Regions from separate parts of the Homo sapiens genome. Here region 2 is linked to region 1. The links are contacts of gene promoters, found by promoter capture Hi-C in blood cells and fetal thymus (Javierre and others, 2016). All regions are on one chromosome and are shown on one strand. Each heading gives the region's core, a stretch centred on a gene start or on the middle of the fragment in contact. The rest is flanking DNA. Distances are from core to core; before and after follow the strand shown. Region 1 holds the start of H4C7 (H4 clustered histone 7). Region 2 has its middle 10 kb from the start of H2BC11.

The links. The method cuts DNA at HindIII sites, captures the fragments that hold promoters and counts their contacts. A CHiCAGO score of 5 or more calls a contact.
Region 2: a fragment that was not itself captured here is called in contact with the fragment with the promoter of H4C7 in region 1 in 1 of 17 cell types (erythroblasts); the score reaches 5.5 in erythroblasts.

Annotation. Positions count from the first base shown.
Region 1 is chr6:26,243,509-26,250,776 of GRCh38, reverse strand. H4C7 (H4 clustered histone 7) reads left to right here and starts at 3,781. Exons shown (of 1, transcript NM_003547.3): 1 at 3,781-4,166. The coding sequence starts at 3,800. The coding sequence ends at 4,096. H3C7 (H3 clustered histone 7) reads left to right here and starts at 142. Exons shown (of 1, transcript NM_021018.3): 1 at 142-635. The coding sequence starts at 172. The coding sequence ends at 582. RefSeq lists enhancers at 260-419, 720-1,089, 1,230-1,309. The HindIII fragment of the contact is 5,476 bases long and covers 1,163-6,638 here.
Region 2 is chr6:27,118,867-27,126,134 of GRCh38, reverse strand. No RefSeq gene overlaps it. Among named protein-coding and RNA genes, the nearest start is that of H2BC11, 10 kb to the left of the region's middle. The HindIII fragment of the contact is 5,298 bases long and covers 1,864-7,161 here.

The DNA.
Region 1 (7,268 bases), core at 2,532-5,031:
GGTTAAGATTTTCTAAAATGAGACCTAGTAGCTGATCACAAGTCCTATCACACTACATAATTCAGGGCGCGAAACTGGAAGATTCGGACCAATCAGAAGGACTTTGCCTTTATAAATAGGAGTAAGAACAACTGTTTGTTCAGTTGTGACCATTGCTTGAAACCCATTCCTATGGCACGCACGAAGCAAACAGCTCGTAAGTCCACTGGCGGCAAAGCCCCGCGCAAGCAGCTGGCCACTAAGGCGGCTCGCAAAAGCGCGCCAGCCACCGGTGGCGTGAAGAAGCCCCACCGCTACAGGCCTGGTACTGTCGCCCTCCGTGAAATCCGCCGCTATCAGAAATCGACTGAGCTACTGATTCGCAAGCTACCATTCCAGCGTCTGGTACGTGAGATCGCGCAGGACTTCAAGACCGACCTGCGCTTCCAGAGCTCGGCTGTGATGGCGCTGCAGGAGGCCTGCGAGGCTTACCTGGTGGGGCTCTTTGAGGACACCAACCTGTGTGCTATCCACGCCAAGCGAGTGACTATCATGCCCAAGGACATCCAGCTCGCTCGCCGCATTCGCGGAGAGAGGGCATAAGTTGTACTGAGGGTGTGCGCCAACTTAAACCAAAGGCTCTTTTCAGAGCCACCAACAATTTCAGTTGAAAGCGCCGTAGCACTAGGGAGTAATGTCTCCTAAAACAAGGAGGGTGGAGGGTTAGGGGATGGGGGCAGGGCCGGTGGCTCTTCTAAACTAGGCTTTTGTGTCTTGGCCATTGTCTTCAAAATGGCCGATAGTGGCGGCTCACGCCTTGTAATCCCAGTACTGTGGGAGCCCGAGGAGGGCGGGTTACTTATACAAAGGTCAGGAATTCGAGACTAGTCTGCCTAACATAGTGAAAACCCGTCTTCACTAAAAGTACAAAACCAAAAAACAAAAATACGGGTGTGGTGGCGCCCTCCTGCAGTCCCAGCTATATCGGGGGCTGAGGAAGGAGAATCGCTTGGACCTGGGAGGCAGCCGTTGAAGTAAGCCGAGATCGCGCCACTCCACTCCTCCATGGGTGACAGCGAAACCCTGTCTCAAAACAACAAAACAGAAAATGGTTGTGTGCTGAGGCAAAACCAAAACTACAGGGACAAAGGAAACAACTTGTTGACAAAAGTGTACGAAAGCTTTATTTGTGACAGTATGGGGAGTTAAATCATTATTATTCTTTTTGGCTTGCCCTGAGAGTTCATTTGAGACATCAACAGGAGAAACGGATACAAGTTAATATAATACAAATTTTACTTGGCATGGGAGCCTTCCAATTAAAACCCCGAGGTGCAGGTGAAGCTGTACACTATGCTCAGGGAAAACGGGGTTCAAGGAAATATTATTGCAACTTTTTTTTTTTTTTAGGCGGAGTTTCGCTCTTGTCAGCCAGGATGGAGTGCAGTGGCGCAATGCGGGATCCCGGCTCACTGGGACCTCCGCCTCCCGGGTTCAAGCGATTCTCCTGCCTCAGCCTCCCGAGTAGCTGGGATCACAGGCGTGTGCCACCACGCCCGGCTAATTTTGTAGCTTTAGTAGAGACGGGGGTTTCACCATGTTGGCTATGATTGGTCTGGAACTCCTGACCTCAGGTGATGTGACTCCTTGGCCTCCCAAAGTGCTAGGATTACAGGCGTAATCCACCGTGCCCAGCGCAATTTCTTGTTATTCTAGTAATTTAATCAGCCTGGCCAACATGGAGAAACCCTGTCTACTATAAATACAAAAAATTAGCCGGACGTGGTAGCAGGCAACTGTAATCCCAGCGACTAGGGAGGCTGAGGCAGAAGAATCACTTGAACCTGGGAGGTGGAGGTTGCAGTGAGCCGGGATCGTGCCACTGCACTCCAGCCTGGGCTACAGAGTGAGACCCCGCCTCAAAAAAAAAAAAAAAAAAAAAAAAAAAAAATCTAATTATTTCAAAATAATGTAGAAATAGGCTGTGATGGGATTGCTGCTTTTATTGCTTGGAATTCCATGGTTTATCAAGTTTGTTTGTTTGTTTTCCCCACAAATAGTTGTTTGCACTCTTGGCTTTTTGTTGTGGTGACCTGCTCATTAGGCCATAATTCATTTATGCAGTTACATGATTTTTTAGATATTGCTGACCCTGCTTCAAAAACCCATGATCTTTAGGACTGTTTGTTTGGTGCATCGTAACTGCACAATAAAAAATCCATTGTTATTTTGAACATTCTATTTTAGAGACATCATTTATTTCCACTTAAATGCTCTCGTTTAACTAGCTCAGCAAGTATTTTGTAATGTAAAAATTTAGTGGTGCTTATGTCTTTATTTTGGCTTGTGAGCAAATTCCCCTTTTCTCCTATTAACATTTATGACAGCTTTCCCTGAGTTTCCTGTTGTATCAACCCCAGAAGACAGTCACCCCCTGTACCTTCTGTCCTCCACATGAGAACAGGGCATGGAGCCTCTGGCAATTTACATTATCTTTTTTCTGGGCAATTCTTCATTGCTTAATTGTATAGTGCTTAATATAAGTGAAAGCACACTGAATGTATTGGTGTTGCAAAGGCAATGTTTTAAAATCCTTCGGTGTGCTTTACCTCTGCATTATTATTTTGTCTGTAAAAAAAGGCTGTGGCAATAAGAATTCGTTTACCAACTGGCCGGTGAGGTGGCTCACGCCTGTAATCCCAGCACTTTGGGAGGCCAAGGCGGGCGGATCACCTGAGGGCAGGAGTTGGAGACCAGCCTGGCCAACGTGAAATCTGGTCTCTACTAAAATACAAAAATGAGCCGGGAGTGGTGGCACATACCTGTAATTCCAGCTACTTGGGAGGCCGAGGTAGGAGAATAGCTTGAACCCAGAAGGTGGAGGTTGCAGTGGGCAGAGATTGCGCCATTGCACTCCAGCCTGGGCAACAAGAGCGAAACTCCGTATTTTAAAAAAAAATCATTTACTAACTATATGCCAGTGTTTTGCTTAAAGTAACTCAATTATTAACAAGTATTTACCCTTTTTACAGATAGGGCCATTGAAACTCAGATTAACATGTCTAATATCGGTGAGAGAGCAGTCACTCACAGATTCGAAACCAAAAACCAGGCTACTTCTCTTTAGCTGGGCGGCTTGGCAATATGATTAGGAATTCTTTTATGTCTTGGAATTTGGGCTTGTTTCAACTTCAGCATGGTAAATGCTCTAATATACAGGGAAGGAGTAAATCTTTTTTTTTTCTTTTTTGAGACGGGCTTCGCCCTTGCCCAGGCTAGAGTGCAGTGACGTGATCTCGGCTCACTGCAGGCTCCACCCCACGGGGTTCATGCCATTCTTCTGCCTCAGCCTCCTGCATAGCTGGGACTACAGGCGCCCGCCACCTCGCCCTGCTAATTTTTTGTATTTTTATTAGAGACAGGGTTTCACCGTGTTAGCCAGGATGGTCTCGATCTCCTGAGCTCGTGATCCGCCCGCCTCGGCCTCCAAAAGTGCTGGGATTACAGGCGTGAGCCACCGCGCCCGGCCAGGAGTAAATCTTTAAACACATACAGACATCAAAAATCGAGATACTTTCCTCTAGGTACATGTTTGACACTTTCGTTTAGAGATCCTTATTCTCTAAATGCCAGCAAATCTCCCTACTACAAGAGAATTTCTTATGTCTTGTTATTACTAGAAGTAGATGAGCGGGGACTGAATACGTTTTCCCGCCTTTCCTGGTCTTTCAGTTTTCAAAAAGGTCTACTCTACCGTTATATAAAAGGCTGCGGAAAGCGAGTAATCGTTTTGTTTAGAGATAGTTCTGACTTGTTTATCATGTCTGTTCGGGGCAAGGCCGGAAAAGGCCTTGGGAAAGGCGGTGCCAAGTGCCATCGCAAGGTACTGAGCGATAATATTCAGGGCATTACCAAGTGCACTATCCGGCGCTTGGCCCGGCATGGCGGTGTCAAGCGCATCTTGGGCCTCATTTATGAGGAGACCCGCCGGGTGTTCAAGGTGTTCCTGGAAAATGTGATCTGGTACGCCGTGACCAACACGGAGCACGCCAAGCGCAAGACGGTCACCGCCATGGCCGTGGTCTACGTGCTCAAACGCCAGGGAAGAACCCTGTAAGGCTTTGGCGGTTAAGTGAGGCCAGGCCTTTCCTTGCAATATCGTTAATGGCCCTTTTCAGGGCCGCGTACGTTTTCTTCCGAAGGGCTCACGTTTGACATTGTGGAAACTTAACTAACGCACTCAGCAATATTGTGTGTTTTATTGCTGTAGGTGCCCAAAAGCTGTTAGGTGTATAATGCTGTAAAGTATAAATTTACGCCAAGGCTGACATACAACATGGAATACAGGTGGTAAGTTAATCGTGTGTTCAGAGATTAGAAATCTGGTGGGCTGGCTGAGGACATCAACGGCTACATTGTCACTTAAAAGCTCTCAAAATGTGGTTATGGTAGTGTGTTTTTCTCCTTACTGTTAGGATTACCCTCCGTAATTAAAATTGTAGTTTTAGTGCCAAGATAACCCGACTTTTATATTCTGCTTAATAAGCAATTTCAATAACCAGAGAATACACAATAATTAGCACAAACTTGCCAGGTGCCGTTCTGACAAATGTGTCTGCAGTGGAGGGACTGGCCCCCTTGCTAGTTCAATGATCTAATTTAGCAGCACTAAAAGAAGTTTACCTGTTTCGTGCCTTTGCTTGTGATCCATCGTAAATATAGAAACACCTTGATAAGGTGTAACTGCAATAATTCGTGTCTCAATTTACTGTTTATGAAAGTACAGGGGTCAAAGAGCCAATTAAACATCTCAAGAGGGGGAAAAAACCTTCCAGAATGTGGAACATTTGGGACAATTGCTTTGTTCAAAAAGCCACCGAGAAAAACTGGAGGACTTTAAGTTTGAAGGAGATTAAAGTAACATAGCAACTAAATGTATTAATTGCATTCTGTCTCTAAAGTTTTAAAGGGCATTTTGGAGATAATCAAGGAAACTTGAACGTGAACTGGATAACAGGTCATTTTAGTAAGTTTTTAAAGAAAGGTTTGATATATTGAGATTACATGGAATTTCCCTTATTGTTAGGGGTTAGATGCTGAAGTGTGTAGGTGTAAATTCTCATGAGTCTGTCATTTACTTTCGGATGGTGGTAAAATCCACTCTATTGAATGTAGGTAGTGGATGACTGATAAACCCATCTTTTGTTATGTTTTATTCTGAATATTTTTATAATAAAAATTTGGGAAAAATTAACATAATAAACTGTTACAAACTCTGGTGCCATCACGGGAGAGGTCTCTGAACAGGTAAGTGTAAAAGACCTGTCTGCAGAGAGAGGATGCAAGTAGCAGGACACTGAGCCGCATGACACTTGTCATATGCAGGCACATTTATTCCTCTTGCTCTCACTCATCATGATCAGCTGTTAGCCAGAGGGGAGGGACATGGGAACAGGGCAGTTCAGGTACTGTTGGGAGAGGGTAGGTCTCCACTAGTGTGAAGACACAAGGGGCAATAAGTAGTTTGATGCCATGGAGACTGGGAATACATATATGACCAAAGATGCATGCCTGGCAGTTGCCTGATTGAGGAGGGCCTCCTCTTGCAAATTGAGAAACTGAGAATTAACCTTATGCTGTTGGAAGCATGTTAATGAGGTGTGACATGGAGAAACTTGCATTTAAGTTACATCAATTCTTTTGGATATTATGGCCATAAACTTTGTGCTGTGTAGTGAAAATATTGGGTTCTGCTAAGGTCAAGACAGGAAACAAGTAGCTTACTCACATGGGATAATTGGAGGAGGGTTTCTTAAAGAAATTATTTGCAAATTAAGGGCAGGATACAGAAAACTAAAAAAGTAGTGCCTCCATCCAGGTCTAGTAAGGATCACTTATAACCCTGAAGGGGCATGGGAAGCAATTGCTATAGCTGCAGAGAGAGGGATCCCTGGTCTGGAGAGATGCTGCTAACAGCCAATGAAAGGGAAACTGGGGAATAAATACCCCATCTCATTTTCCTCCTTTCCTCCAGTCTCCTGCATGGGGTTTCCACTGGCTGAATCCTTCCAGAAGGTGGAGGTCTGGGTAGCATATTGGTCAGAACCATACAGTTAGTCTCCCAAAGCCCAGGGCTTGGAGGAGAAAGTGGAAATAAGTCTAGAGGTCCTACTGGAAGACACTTTATGAGGAAATGACACCACTTCCATGTTTCATAAAATAAACGTCGTGAACAGTTCTGTGTTTCTATTATATGTTTTTTTTTTTTTTTTTTTTTTGGCCAATCCTTTGCCTTGCCACTGGAAACAGCTTGTAGAGACGGTGTCAAAGTTAAATTTTTCTGTAAACCACACAGGATCTACAGACTCTTATATAAGAAAAACTTTATATACTTAATTCCACAGAATTAAATATTTACTTTCTCAATCTATGAGTTTTTAACTTACAATGGTGTATGTTTGATTTGTATTATTTCACTTTCATAGGGGTAAATGAAACGACACAATAATCATTGTTTAACAACAACAAACACATGAAGCAGAACACAACAAAACTTTTTAAAAATAGATTTTAATGCAAGAGTCAATCTAGAATTTAAAAACCCTTTCTAGGATACACATTTTCTCATTGTTATTTATTTTTTCTGTCAAAGCCAAGCTTTTTACCTTTCAGGGTTTCTCCACTCTATTCTGTCAAACAACATTCCAGCAATTGCCATAATTTTCTATGGCCCTGTAAAGTATGACATAGTGTTTAAACAGTGAATTGTAGCCAAAATGACTGGCTTAAATATCACTGCTCTTGTGTGAAGTCACACATAGATTGGGAGCCACGCCAAGGATGTTCTGGGCCAGAGGACATGCAAGTGGAAAATCTCAAGGTGAGAAAAGCTTTATGTGTTTCAGGAAACAAAGGGCAACTAGTGTGGCCCCTTCCTCTGTTTACAAAAGGCATCACACTCCATTACCCTTATCACTTCTCTGACTCTGACTCTCCTCGCTTCTACTTATAAGGATCCTTGTGATTACAATGGCACCACTCAGGTAATCCAGAATCATCCAATCTCAAAAGCCTTAATTTAATAACATTGGAAAGTTACTTTTACCATTTAAGGAAACATATTCGCAGCTTTTGGGATTAAGATGCGGGCATCTGGGGGGGAGGCATTATTGCTACCAGAAGTATAGTAAGGCATAAAACCTTTTAATAGTGTTGTAAAACGACTCCGAATTCCTAAAATACACAAAAGTCCATTAGAAAATAGTTAAAACCCTTTTTGTTTGAAACTC
Region 2 (7,268 bases), core at 3,263-5,762, 870 kb before region 1:
CTGTTCCAATTTAGGACTTTTTTTTTTTTATCATAATATAAAGATCTGAAATGCTATGTTTTCCTTATTCATTGGCTTATTATCTTTACTATCCCATCCTCCACACTAAAAGTTTTTTCGAGCTGGATTTGGGAGTTGTGGGGTAGGTTATATTTTGATCACTTGTATTTCCCAGCTTCTAGAACAGTGCCCAGCAAAGTACTTCTCTGAATAAATGAATAAAGTAATATTCCTCTGCTCTGCTGTTGCCAACTGGAATATCCTGAGGGAAATTTCTTTACTTTCCTCAGGGGATGATCCAGAAGATGAAAAACAAATTGTCATTCCATATAGTCCTCTTCTGAGTGTTTTTCAGTTTTGTTAAAACTCAGATTTTTTCTTTTTACCTGAATGTTTTTTTGTTAATGATTATTAGCATATACAGTATTTTCTTTTATGTACCAAAAAAAGGCAATTGATACAGTGCATGACTTGAAAATATACCTGCCTTCTCTGAGGCTCAAATTCAGGACTGTATTATTTGGAAAGCCTTGTTGGGTTGTGGCTCCCAAGAAATCATACCTAATTTCCCTTCTTTGAGAGCACTGATTTCTGAGTTTCCATTTCTCCTAGAAGAGAAACATTGGCTTGTAAGAATTTATGTATCATCAATGCTTCCTTTTCCATCCTGCACTTAGAAGGACCCAAGACTTGAGGGCTGCGCTGTCAACACTATTCCTTGCTCACCCTCTCTTTTGTTCTAATTATTTATGTCTTCCCGCCTTCAGAAATATCAGTTGCTCTTTCACCAGCCATTGTTTCCTCTCTGGCCCTAGTGCAGAGTAGGTGACGTAGTACAGCTGAAAGGATGAATGCTGGCAAACTTGTTTCTAGCCTAGATTTCTCCTTATTTTAAATCTGCACTTGCAACCACATGGCCTGAGACACTCCTCTTGAAAATATCACCAAAAGGACCTTATTATAAAAAGTCACCGCCATCTATTCAGGGCTATGTATTAGGGGACAATAAAGTGTAAGTCATGGCCAGGCACGGTGGCTAATGCCTCTAATCCCAGCACTTTGGGAGGCCGAGGTGGGTGGATCACGAGGTCAGGAGATTGAGGCCATCCTGGCTAACACGGTGAAACCCCATCTCTACTAAAAATACAAAAAATTAGCCGGGCGTGGTGGCGGGAGCCTGTAGTCCCAGCTACTTGGGAGGCTGAGGCAGAAGAATGACGTGAACCCAGGAAGCGGAGCTTGCACTGAGCCGAGATCACACCACTGCACTCCAGCCTGGGAGACATAGGAAGACTTTGTCTCAGAAAAAAAAAATTGAGTCATTTACATTGTTTTATTTTATCCAACTTAATATTTTTCACAAACAGTTATCATTATCCTCATTTTAGAGATGAAGCTGAGACTCAGAGTAGAAAACTTCCTTAAGTCACAAGATTGATAAGTGGCAAAGCCAGTACTAGAAAGCAGAATAGTTTTGATTCTGAAATGTGCTCCTTCTCACGTATCAGCTCCTGTTCCCTCCACATTCCTTGTCCGCATGTACCCAATGGTACACTTGACACATATTTACAAATTTGTGCATTCCCACCCATTAGATATACATCTCCACCTCCAATGACTTACCAACTCTTGTAGATTATTCCCACACATTTGCTTTCTTTTCATTCATTCCTTCATGCATTCGTGGCACATAGCATTATGGAGGAAATCCTGTGTCACATGTATTCACTGCTGACTTCAGAGGCTGAAGGAACATGGCCTAGCATCTGGGGCCCTTCCTTGTTTGAAAAGTTTCTGGTTTCTCCACTTCTAGGCTCGCCATCTTCCAACCTTCCTGACAGATAAGAAATACACTTCAAAGCTTAGTCTGAGAAAGCAACTTCTCTACTCAAAGTTTTTCAAAAGAGCTTGTATCCTTTTAGTCTGGGTTTTAAACCATTACTTGTTTCTATATACATTTTTCCAGATAAGTTTTTAAAAATTATTTCTACCGGGCCAGGCACGGTGGCTCATGCCGGTAATCCCAGCACTTTGGGAGGCCAAGGCAGGCGGATCACGAGGTCAGGAGTTAGAGACCAGCCTGGCCAACACAGTGAAACCCCGTCTCTACTAAAAATACAAAAATTAGCAGGGCGTGGTGGCGGGCACCTGTAATCCCAGCTACTTGGAGGCTGAGGCAGGAGAATCGCTTGAACCTGGGAGGCGGAGGTTGCAGTGAACCAAGATTGTGCCATTGCACTCCAGCCTGGGTGACAGAGCTAGATGTCATCTCAAGAAAAAAAAAATTATTTCTACTTAGAATGTATGTTTCATGCCCAACTAAAGAGGTTCTTCTCTTTTCCTCATACAGAATATCCTATTTCCATGCCTGGAACCCCCTACTCCCTATTCTGTCTTCAGTTTCATCTTCTAATGCCCATTCTTGATCCCTTTGATCTATTGCTTTTTTCTAAACTCTCACAGTTCTTTAAGCCTGTTTTGCATTTTTGCTCTTCCACCATGTGCTTTATGTGGCTTCTTTTCTGAACATTTCCATCTCAAGAATAGTAAGTATCACATTGTAACCTCACACACTGTTGACACGAGTAAACTTCAGTCTGTTGATTTGTTCTGTGAAAACAGTGGAAATAACTGGTTTTCCTGTCTTTTCTTTCCTTCTTTTCTTTTCTTTCTCACTCTGTCACCCAGGCTGGAGTGCAGTGGTGCAATCTTGACTCACCACAACCTCCGCCTCCCTGATTCAAGCAATTCTGCCTCAGCCTCCTGAGAGCTGGGACTATAGGCGAGCACCACCACACTCCACTAATTTTTGTATTTTTAGTAGAGACAGGGTTTCACCATGTTGGCCAGGCTTGGTCTCAAACTCCTGACCTCAAGTGATCCACCTGCCTTGGTGTCCCAAAGTGCTGGAATTACAGGTGTGAGCCACTGCGCCTGGCCAGAGCTGGTTCTTTTTCTTTAGAGCGACTTTTTATAGCTGTCAAGGTAGAAAACAGAGAATTTCTTTATAACTTGCAATTTCTACAGTTGGCAGCCTCCTCTGCTCAGGCCTTGTCAATGTCTGGTTTTCCCACCCTCCCAGAAATGGGGTCTCGATCTATCACCCAGGCTGGAGTGCAGTGGCGTGATCATGGTTCACTGCAGCCTCAAACTCCTGGGCTCAAGTCATCCTCCTACCTCAGCCTTCCAAGTAGCTAGAACTACAGGTGTGTGCTACTACAATGACTAATTTATTTTCTTAGAGACGAGGTCTCGCTATGTTTCCTAGGCTAATCTCAAATTCCTGGCCTGAAGTGGTCCTCCTGCTTGGGCCTCCTGAGTCGCTGGGATTACAATACTGTCTAGTATGAAGGAAGTTTGTCTTGATATGTTTCCTGCTCAAAACAAAATGCAACTTGTCATTTTCAAACTCTAAAATTCTTCTGGTGTGTTTTAAAATGTCTATACTGTAATAGCAAATAAATTAACTTTTATGACAGGGAATTGTTGCTTTGTCATTCAACTTACTTGTCTGGTAAGCAAAATGCCTTGGGTTCAAGTCCTCACAGAATTTTGTTTTTGCATTGTGTAGCCTTCCCTGATACTCATTTCTTTCCATAAAACTGTCACCCCTAGATAAAGCCTCATTTGCTTCATCTTGTAGGTTTCACACCTAACCCATAAGCATTTGGATAGTTGGGAGAAGCTATAATGGTATATCATTTATTTTATAATAGTATGTAAGATTGATAATGGGACAAGTCAATAGCTTCCACATTGTGTTTAGGCTTTCCAGCAAAATTGGATTTAAATATCATATTTAAATATTTATATTTATAAACTTAAAAAATCAATTTTATGTAAAAAAGTTATATTGGAGTTTATCAAACTAATATACATATATATTTTCTTTTTGAGGCAGGGTCTGGCTCTGTTGCTCAGGCTGGAGTGCAATGATGCATTCTTGGCTCACTGAAATCTCTGCCTCCCAGGCTCAAGTGATCCTCCCACCTCAGCCTCCCAAGTACCTGGGACTATACCTGGCCAATTTTTTTTTCTTTTTTTTTTTTTTTTTGGTAAAGACAGGGTTTTTCCATGTTGTTGAGGCTGGTTTCGAACTCAAACTCAGGTGATCTGCCCATCTCAGCCTCCCAAATGCTGGGAATATAGACGTGAGCCACGATGCCAGGCACAAACTCATTTATTTTAATTTACTTTTAAATTAATCATGTTACAAAGTCAATACTTTAAAGTTTATAGATTTGAATTCTAAAACTTCTTTGTTTTATTGAGATTTATACATACATGGTAAAATATTTGGTTAACTCACCATGTTCTGTAAATGATGATGTCATTAGGACTAAAGTGTTCATCTGTACTTTTAAGAATTAAAAGAAGACATTGTTTTAGAAGACAATTTCAGGAAATGTTAATAATTTAAAATGTAATGGCCTTGGTTACTTTTCAGTTGCTTTTAGCTTATCTTTTTCCCTATTATGAATATAAGTTTTATGAATATTTTTGTGTATGTTTTTTGGTGTACATATGTGCCCATTTCTTTTGTTGAGACGGATTCTCAGTTTGTCATCCAGGCTGGAGTGCAGTGGCACAATCTCGGCTTACTGCAACCTCCGCCTCACAGGTTCAAGTGATTCTCCTGCCTCAGCCTCCCGAGTAGCTGGGACTGCAGGTGGGTGCCACCATGCCCGGTTAATTTTTTGTATTTTTAGTAGAGATAGGGTTTCACTATGTTAGCCAGGATTGTCTTGATCTCCTGACCTTGTGATCCACCCGCCTCGGCCTCCCAAAGTGCTGGGATTACAGGCATAAGCTACTGCGCCCAGCCTGTGCTCATTTCTTTTGAGCATATAATAGGAATGGAATTAACAGTTTTTAAGGTAACCATATATTTAGGTTTAGTAAACACTGACAAATATTTTTCTAAAATGTATAAACCAATTCAAACTCCTATAATATAAGATGATTTTAATTGCTTCAAATTTTTGCCTTTATCTTGTTAGGCTTTAAGTTTTGCCTTTCTGAATAGGATGTGTTAGTGATATCTCACTGTTGCTTTCATTTTCAGTTTCCTGATGAGTCATAATATTGTGTACCTATTCATATGCTTCATATACATTGAATGTCATTTAGTGGAAGAGAATGTTCATGTCTTTGCCCATTTTTAAATTATTTGTACTTATCGATTTGTAACAATTTTTTCCATATGGACTTTTCCATATGGACATATCATTGACCTAACTAACGTAATTTGTTGAAAAGACAACCCTTGCACTGCAGTGTTACCTTTCTCATGAATCAGGTGACTACACACATGTTTCTGGCTCAATAGCAATCATTCTCATTACCATAGTTTAAGATAGGGGTTGGCAACTTATAGTGTAAGTTCTCCAACTGTGTTCTTCTTTATAATTGGCTTTTCATTTTCATAGAAGTGTTAGAATCAGGAAGAAATACTTCCTAACTCAGAGGTCAACAAACTATGGCCCACAGACCAAATATGACCCACCACCTGATTTTCAAAAAAAGTGTTATTGGAACACAACCACATTCACTTATTTGTGTATTATCTATGTCTACTTTCCCACCAGAACAGCAAAGTTGAGTTGTTGTGACAGAGACCTTATTGTCTGCACAGCCTAAAATATTTACTATCTGGCTTCTTAAAATATTGGTTAACTTAATTCGTTCCATAGGGCAACATCATCTTGATACTAGAACTGGACAAATATAAACAAAGAAACTTATTGACCAATATCCTTCATGAACAGAGATACAAAGGTTCTAAACAAAATTTTAGAAAATTCAAATTCAGTAATATGTAAAAAGAATAATACATCATGATCAAGTATTCCTGGCTTTTCCAAAAAATGTAGAGTTGGTTAAACATTAGAAAAATCAATCAACATAATATACCATATTAACAAACTAAGAAATCTCAACAGAGGAATGTTACAAGAAAAACGTGGGACTGTAACATTTCTCCCAAACTCAGAAGGAACCGAGAGACCAAAGTATGACTTGGACAAGTTCAGCTTGATAAGTAGATGAGTTTATTAGGACTTATATACAGGGCATTCCTGGACGGCAGCAAGACAGCTCTAGAGAGCTGTGTTGCCACCATCTCTAAGCTGCTTTTAAGCTAATGTTCTGGTCTTTGCCTACTGTGTTTAGGCAAGGAGACTGTTTTCCTTGATCAGATACTCTCTGGGATGTTTGGGTTCTCAGGGATACCTGCTCCTCAGCTGGGTACCATGGTCTTGGCTTATCACCCAGCCTTCAGGGTTCAAGTAGCAGATATCACCCTTAAGCAAGCTGGTGGAGGACTGTCACACTATAAGGCAGAAAAAGCATTTGACATAATTCAACATTCATTACTGATGAAAACTCTCAGTAAACTAGAAATAGAGGAGAACTTCCTAATGTGATAAAGTGTATTTACAAAAAATCTACAACTAAGATTATACTTAAAGACTGAATGTTTTCCCCCTAAGGTCGTAAACAAGATAGTCATGTTTGCTTTCACCACTTCTATTCAATGTTGGAAATTCTAGCTAGTGAAATTAGGGGAAAAAAGAAAGAGGAAAGAAAAGAAGGAACAATGGAAGGAAAGAAGAATCATCTAAATTGTGAAGATAGCACTTATTATTCTCAAATGACATGGCCATCTCATGTAGAAAATCAGAATGTACAAAAAGCTACTAGAGTTAATGGTTGAGTTCAGAAAGGCTGTAGGATGCAAGATCAATATTAAAAACTGCATTTGTATATACTAGTAACAATCAGAAATGTTTAAAAAGTTATAATAAAACTAAAATATGAAATACTTAGGGATAAGTTTGAGAAAAGATGTGAAATATCTATACACTGAAAACTACAAAATATTTCTGAGAGAAATTGAAGAAGACTTTAATACTTGGAGAGATAAAACTTGCTTATAGGCCAGAAAACTCAGTATTGTTAAGATAACAATTATTCTCAAACGAATACACAAATTCAACACTAACCCAGTCAAAACCCAGGAGGTTTCTTTGCAGAAATTGGCAATCTGATTCCAAAATTAATATGGAAATGAAAAGGATCTACAGTTGCCAAAACAACTCCGAAAAAGAACAAACCTGGATGGCTATCAACTACCTCATTTCACAGAATTATTATAAAGCTTCAGAAAGCCAGACAGCATGGTATGGTTGTAAGATAGGCAAGTAGGTCAATGGAACACAATAGAGAATCCAGAAACAAACCAACATGTATATAAACAACTGATGTTT